Regions from separate parts of the Homo sapiens genome. Here region 2 is linked to region 1. The links are contacts of gene promoters, found by promoter capture Hi-C in blood cells and fetal thymus (Javierre and others, 2016). All regions are on one chromosome and are shown on one strand. The core of a region is centred on a gene start or on the middle of the fragment in contact, and the rest is flanking DNA. Distances in the headings are between cores, read along the strand shown.

What was found. The method cuts DNA at HindIII sites, captures the fragments that hold promoters and counts their contacts. A CHiCAGO score of 5 or more calls a contact.
Region 2: a contact is called between a fragment that was not itself captured here and the fragment with the promoter of FZD6 in region 1, in 1 of 17 cell types (activated CD4 T cells). The highest score is 6.6, in activated CD4 T cells.

What each region holds. Positions count from the first base shown.
Region 1 is chr8:103,297,648-103,301,179 of GRCh38, forward strand. FZD6 (frizzled class receptor 6) reads left to right here and starts at 1,251. Exons shown (of 7, transcript NM_003506.4): 1 at 1,251-1,348; 2 at 2,309-2,637. The coding sequence starts at 2,461. LOC105369147 (a long non-coding RNA gene) reads right to left here and starts at 1,171. Exons shown (of 2, transcript NR_148216.1): 1 at 702-1,171. RefSeq lists enhancers at 827-1,327, 1,328-1,828, 1,682-1,731 and silencers at 932-981, 992-1,161, 1,282-1,531, 1,394-1,688. The HindIII fragment of the contact is 1,769 bases long and covers 192-1,960 here.
Region 2 is chr8:103,400,919-103,404,324 of GRCh38, forward strand. It overlaps SLC25A32 (solute carrier family 25 member 32), which reads right to left. Exons shown (of 7, transcript NM_030780.5): 4 at 2,246-2,406; 5 at 1,023-1,136; 6 at 598-743. Among named protein-coding and RNA genes, the nearest start is that of SLC25A32, 12 kb to the right of the region's middle. The HindIII fragment of the contact is 7,767 bases long and covers 1-3,406 here.

The DNA of each region.
Region 1 (3,532 bases), core at 1-2,500:
CTAGAGCCTGATCACAAAAAGATCTCATTAAGTTCGTAGAAACTGGAGAGAAATAGTCTTCCAATGTAGAAAATTAGAAATTTAGGGGAAAATATTCTTCCTACATAGAAATTTATTCTGCAATACATCAACTATCCAGCTCTTAATGATGTTAATATTTCTTCATCACTACCTGTCTCCCAACATCAGTAAGCTTTTGATAAAACTGGGGAGGAATTCCCCACTCCAAATTCGTCTTTCCCCACAGATTCCAAAACTCTTACTCTGGTTGTTCAGGGTTGTCCTTCTAGGTATGGAAATATGACATTCCTTTTCTGCAACAGGATGATTTATCTGACAAGAATAGCCTCCATCTACAAGTTACTTTGCATTTTTCAAAGTACTTCTACAAGTTCATTTGCTTCTCATACTATTCTGCCTGTTTCATAGGAGGGCCTTACAGGTTAGGTGTAAACACTTGTAACGAACTTGGCACTATTTGACTTACAGCCAGTGCTCAATTAACGTTAACCATCATTACAACTATTGTCATTCCTATATTGTGAGGAAACTATGCCCCTTAAAGATTAGGGTAATTTATCTAATATCTATGACAGAGTTGGTACCCCAAACTAGGTTGATTTCTACAGCAGTTCAACTTCCTATTAGGGTTTGTATCAATAAAACTGTGGGACCCGCCAGGGCTGGAATCCCACTGCTACCTGAGCATCCAGTTGGTGACCAGGCTCCCCGAATTAATAAAAGTATTTGTTGTTGTTTTTATAGCAGTTGTCCAGGAAGTATCTCCTTTCGAACTCAAGTCACTTGGGCAATTGGCTTTACAAAGCAAATTGGCTCCGTTTAAGGATTCTTGACTCCTGAAATCCGCAAGGAAGTGGGTTCTTTTAGAGCCAGCGCCAAGAGCTTCAAAAAATCCTTCTAAGGTGAACCCCTCCGGACCCGGATAGCGAGATGGGGCTCAGCCTTGCGCCTCGGGGGTCGTAACAGACGGCAAGGTGGAGGTGGCTTCCCGGCCCCGCAGCCGGACCTCGGCACCCCGAGCCCGTTCACCGGGGCCGGGTCCTGGCGGGCCGCGGAGTGAGGCCGGGCGGCGCAGCGCAGGCGGTGCCCGGGCGCAGGGCCAGTCCCGCCGCCGCCGCCGCCGCCGCCGCCGCCGCCGCCGCGAGCCCGGACCTGCCCGCCCGACCTGGCGGCGCAGTCTCGCGGGATCGCTCAGCTCTCGCTCCCCGTGCGGCTCTCGAGGCAGCTCCAGTCCCGGACGCAACCCCGGAGCCGTCTCAGGTCCCTGGGGGGAACGGTGGGTTAGACGGGGACGGGAAGGGACAGCGGCCTTCGACCGCCCCCCGAGGTGAGGCTTCCACGGCTGGGACTGGGCAGGGGCCGGGCGGGTGCCGGGGGAAGCGGGGAGGGCCTCGAGGGGCGAGGGGCCGCGGCTGGGATGAGGCGCGCCGGGAGCCGCAGGTGCTGGGGAGGCAACGGCGGGACGGCCCGCACCTGAGTTTCCTCGGAAGCGGGAACCGGCTCTGAAAGGCGATGCCGGGGCCCCGCGGCGCCGCGCAGGCCAGGAACGCTGCTGTCTGGCTCTAGGCCTGGGGCAGGTTCCCGGGTGTGGGGCGCTGGCGGACCGGGCATCAGTGTGTGTTGGGGCGCGGGTAATTCGTAATCCGGGGCCTACAGCCTTCCTCCCGCAAGGGGACTGCCTTCGCCCTTCCCCCGGGACAGATTTGCGCACTTTCCTTTCGACGGCAGCACTACACCCTCCTAGCCAGTGAAAACTGCAATGTTGCTCCTCCACTGGAGGAATCCTAAAAGTCTCCCTCTAGTTGGCCTTACGAAAATCGAGAAAACTACATACCCAGAAGACTGCCACAAAAACTGACTCTTCAGAGTCTTTTACAAGTTTAAGAACTCTTTGGGTCTTAAGGAATTTCCCAGGGCCTTAGTTTTCTTGTACTTAATAAGCTTTCCAACAGGGGCCCTTAGATTGTATGCTTATATTAATCCTTTATAATTTACTCCGAATCACCAGCTTTCCTTTTTTCCTCCATCTTACTCTTGCCATTCCCTCTTTTTAACCCTGTCTTCCATACAGCACCAACCTCCTAGCATCGGTTTCCTAGAGGTGCAGCTTCCTTAGCAAATGATATATTCCATGCTAAGGCAGGTGGAAGAGTATCTCGTTAGGACAGAATTTTCCGTTGTTTTTCCAGTGTTTGTTACCTGGGGTGAAAATCTTAACTCTGCACTTTGACTCCACATTTGAGTTTATGACAAATGTTGCTGATACACCCTCCTTTTGTTTTTACAGTAATTGACCCAGGACTCATTTTCAGGAAAGCCTGAAAATGAGTAAAATAGTGAAATGAGGAATTTGAACATTTTATCTTTGGATGGGGATCTTCTGAGGATGCAAAGAGTGATTCATCCAAGCCATGTGGTAAAATCAGGAATTTGAAGAAAATGGAAATGTTTACATTTTTGTTGACGTGTATTTTTCTACCCCTCCTAAGAGGGCACAGTCTCTTCACCTGTGAACCAATTACTGTTCCCAGATGTATGAAAATGGCCTACAACATGACGTTTTTCCCTAATCTGATGGGTCATTATGACCAGAGTATTGCCGCGGTGGAAATGGAGGTGAGTAGTGCTTCATACGTTTATTGAATAGTAGTTTATGCTCTGTTCTAGAATAAACTAGTAAAAATAAGTCTATTTTTAAACAGAGCCGATTTCTTCAAGTTGTGTACAAGTTGTGTTTTGAAAAGTCCTTTTGAAAATTAAATCCCTCTACTGACTTATGTTTTGTGTACCTTTGCGGCCCTGTTTAGTAGATTCGTTTGAATAGGGTTCATTTTATATAATGAAGTATGGTTACACATGATTTCTAAATACCTTGTACCTAGAAAATATTTTGCTTTCCTGAATCAAGTATGATAGTTCTTCTAGAAATGCGAATTCTGAATATTTTTCTACTTCACTGAACATGTAATATTTATTGCCTGGACTAAAACTGAAGAAATTTACAAGTTTTTATAAGTAGTTGTAATATTCACTTGGTACAGTTTTTCTGAAATAAATAAATTATCAGAATATTTTGTTGCTGTAGACTGTATTTTAAGGCTATCACAAAGTCACTAAAAAGTGACTTTGTTTTCTAAGCATAGCACTTATATGTTCTTTATAAGATACTTGTTAAAAGAAACCACTTGGGAGGAGTACAGTGACACTAAAGATTGCCTTAGGTGCCTTAGTTACCTGTCTCTGGTTTAGAGATATGCAAATTACTAGGGAGTGTGAGAAGAAAGCTACCTGTACAGACAGGAACCTGCCTTCCCATACAGATTTGTTAGGTTGTTAAGTCTCCTGAAGGAAACTAGACACATGCATTGTTTTTGTAGTTTTTCTCCAGAAAAACAGAATAGTAAAGGCTTTTTTCCCTCAGATTGTTGCTAAGAGAGGAAATCCCTACAAATTTAATATATATACTATTTTTAAAATTGATTAGATTTGATTTTGCAGCTTTGAAAGTTTT
Region 2 (3,406 bases), core at 347-2,846, 100 kb after region 1:
TAAAACTTTATTTCCTTAATGCCAATAATATGGAATACGGCCTAGAAATTTGTCACTTAGGTGCTCATTAAATATTTCTTGAATTGAATTAAATTTAAACATCCTAAATGTTCTCCTCTGTTCCTTTAGAATTAAAGGGAAATATGGTGATGTCTGCCTATAATAATTTAACTAGTCTCATACTGAAGAACAAACATCTCTTTCATATATGGAAACAAGTATTTGCAAAAGTTATGGTGCCAGTAGCAGGTGTGGAGCCTTCTTGAATGTATTAAGCTAGTCTTATGACTTCTTATATTCAATACCATTCAGATATTTTATAACACCTAAATTTTATTTTCCAAAACATTTTCACACATTTAATTTGATTCTTATAACAACCTATTAGTTAGAAAGTCTTACTTTACAAATGAAGAAATTAAGTCTCAGAGAGATTAAGGCCATGGTCACATACGTAATAACTGGGAAAGCAGGGACCACCAATCATGTTTTCACCACAGCAAACTGGCCTTTGCTATAAAACTAGTATCAACAGGATGGTCTAAGATATGCAAGGTACCTTGTCAAAGCAATTTTTGATATAGCACGTGCTCTCACCTCCATGTCTTTGTGATTACATCTATTACACCACTGTAAAACATGTGTTGATCCTGAAGACGAGCTCTTACGACTTGATATGGGTATGTTGCTGCGACAGCAAATATTTTGGATAGTGCTGCAACAGATATATATTCTACTGTGCTCTAAAATGGCAATACAAAACAGTTTTTTCTTTAGACAGGATTTCTTTAAAAATACAGAAGTAAAAATTATATACAAAAAACATTTAAATGGATCTTTAAGGGATTCTATTTTTGACATTTGTGTGGCTTCAGCCTATAAATATTTAACTATAAATTAAATCAGTGGCAGAGCCAGTACTCATCATCATAGCACTACCACCAAAGTAAGCATGACAAAAATTTCTACCTATTAAATACCCATAAAAGGAAATGATATCATTTTTACAAGAATAATCTTACCAACTGGGCTTCTGGTAATCTATTGATATGCTGGTTGTACTTCAACTTCAGCAATTCATATGCCATAAACTGAAGGGCACCATGCGATGTTCCAAACAGCCCAGGAACAAATCCCTACAAGGGAATGATTTTTAAAAAGCAAAACAACATACGTTTGAAGAACAATATATTTAAGTAAAATACTTTCTCTTCTCTCTCATTACAGCACTTTAAGCAAATTCATTTAATTTTGCACAAATCACATTTTTAAAATATGGGGTTAAAAACTTGTAATATAAAGACATGGGTAGTATTCTCTTCTACTTTATTTTTAAAGGTTTGGATGTTCACATATTAGTTTTTCTTTAAACAGTATACATATAAAGAAGACCCACACTGTCAAGACTTGAGGTGTGAGTGGGAAACTAAATTCTGGAAAGTTAAGAAACTAAAGGTAATGGTAAATCAATGAACTGAGCATAGGTATTCTGAAAGAATAAGGCAGAAAGTGACGAAAAAACATAAAAATAATATATTTATAAAATTCTTGCTTATAGGTCAGTAAAATCATATCAGCCTTAAAATGATTTTAAAAGCTATTACTCAATTCTTGAAAAACAAACTGAAATTCAATGTGTCTAATTTTGATTTTAACCTATGTATGCCTAAAAATTTCTTTATGGGGATAAGCAATAGATGGGAATAGAAGGCAGAAAAGGGGAAAATAAAAAGGAGTTATAAAATCAGAAAACAGATCTGACACTAGGAAAAAAATTTTTAAAATATTACAACAGGCAAAAGGCTGGGTTTGATTTGTTTCGTTATTTTTAAATTTATGTAAGATTTGAGATGAATAAAAAAACTCAATAAAATAAGATCCTGTTAGAACTGCTAATGTCTTCTCCAGACTACATTATCCCAGGTCCCCAAGAGACCACAGCTTCCAAGGAATGGAGTAAGGAATAAGTGACCTGGTTGTATAACTTATCAAATAGAAACTTGACAAAGTTTTAGACAGATCTCATGCCCACCAATGTCATGATGATACATCCTATGTTAATGGGGACAAACAGCTTAAAGTACAATTTCAGTATTATTAACTATATTTCAGTTTTCATTAAATTGTTTTTTGCCTAAGTGTGGCTTCTTTTTAGGACTTACTATAGGTCATTCAGAACTAAGACAACAGAGCCAACGGAAATTCAAATTTTTCAGTTATTTAAAATATATTGATAATTTGTTACCTTATATAATCCACGCACACCTTCATACTTATATATTTTCACAAGTGTATCAAACATTCCTTTATATTGTCGGTGTGGGGAGTTAACAACAGCATCATACTGTAACATAAGGCGAGTTTTTGTTACCCATAATGGGTTTGTAATGCAGAGGGTCATGGCTCCTAAAATGAGATTTCAATAAGATTATTCAGCATACAGATACTTTCGCACTTATGACAACCCAAATTAGAAACAGTACATTTATGTAAAAAAAAAAAAAAAAAAAAAGATAATGCACAGGACCATATCTGAAACTGTGAAATGTAGTTTCTGAGGCACAGTCTTAGGGTCAAAAGGTAGACATTGTTTTTGGTAGTCATAAAAAGTTCCTCATGCAGTTAGCTAGAGGTAAATTAAAAGGGAGATGGAAATGTGAAATGCTTTCTCTTTGAAGTGTAAGGATAGCAAAAATGTCTTGACTCCTAAACAACGTGGCCTGGTGCAGAGAACAGATGGTAAGCAGATACAGACCTTAGGTGTAGCACATGGTATAATCCCAGAGGGGTTGAAGATAGGCGAAAAGAACCAGGAATCTGGCACCCCAATAATCTGTGCATGTGACACATATATCTACCCCAACTTTATCACAATCTTCCTCAAATCCAAAGTAACTACTACCCCTCAAAAATTAAATAATTATGTAATACAGTAAGTCACATTTTACATCCTTTATAGAGTGACAATTTTATTAAAAAATTCATCTGGTTAAGTTTCTCATTTGCCAGGTTTCCTAAGTAGTCCTTTATTCAACAAATATTTGGTCCTGTTATGACTCAGGTTTTTGCTAGTGGCTATGTGTTCAAAAATGATTAAGTTAGGTTTTGACTAATCAACATTAAGAAATCAAGGTATTAAAGTAGGAGTTACAAAGACTTACGGCTCTTACTGTTTTTTCCTTCTGGATAGTATACATAAGTGAGGCGATTAAACAAGGCTACTAAATTGTATAATTTGAAAATTAAAATTATACTTTAAAGAAACACTATACCAAATCATTTTAAACCATTAGGGATTCATAACTTTTCTAAACTTTACCACTTTGTCATGAGTAAAATTCTTGAAATCTGCACAGAGTAATCATAATAATTTCTGCTAAGAAATTCCATATAACAGCCAGGCGTG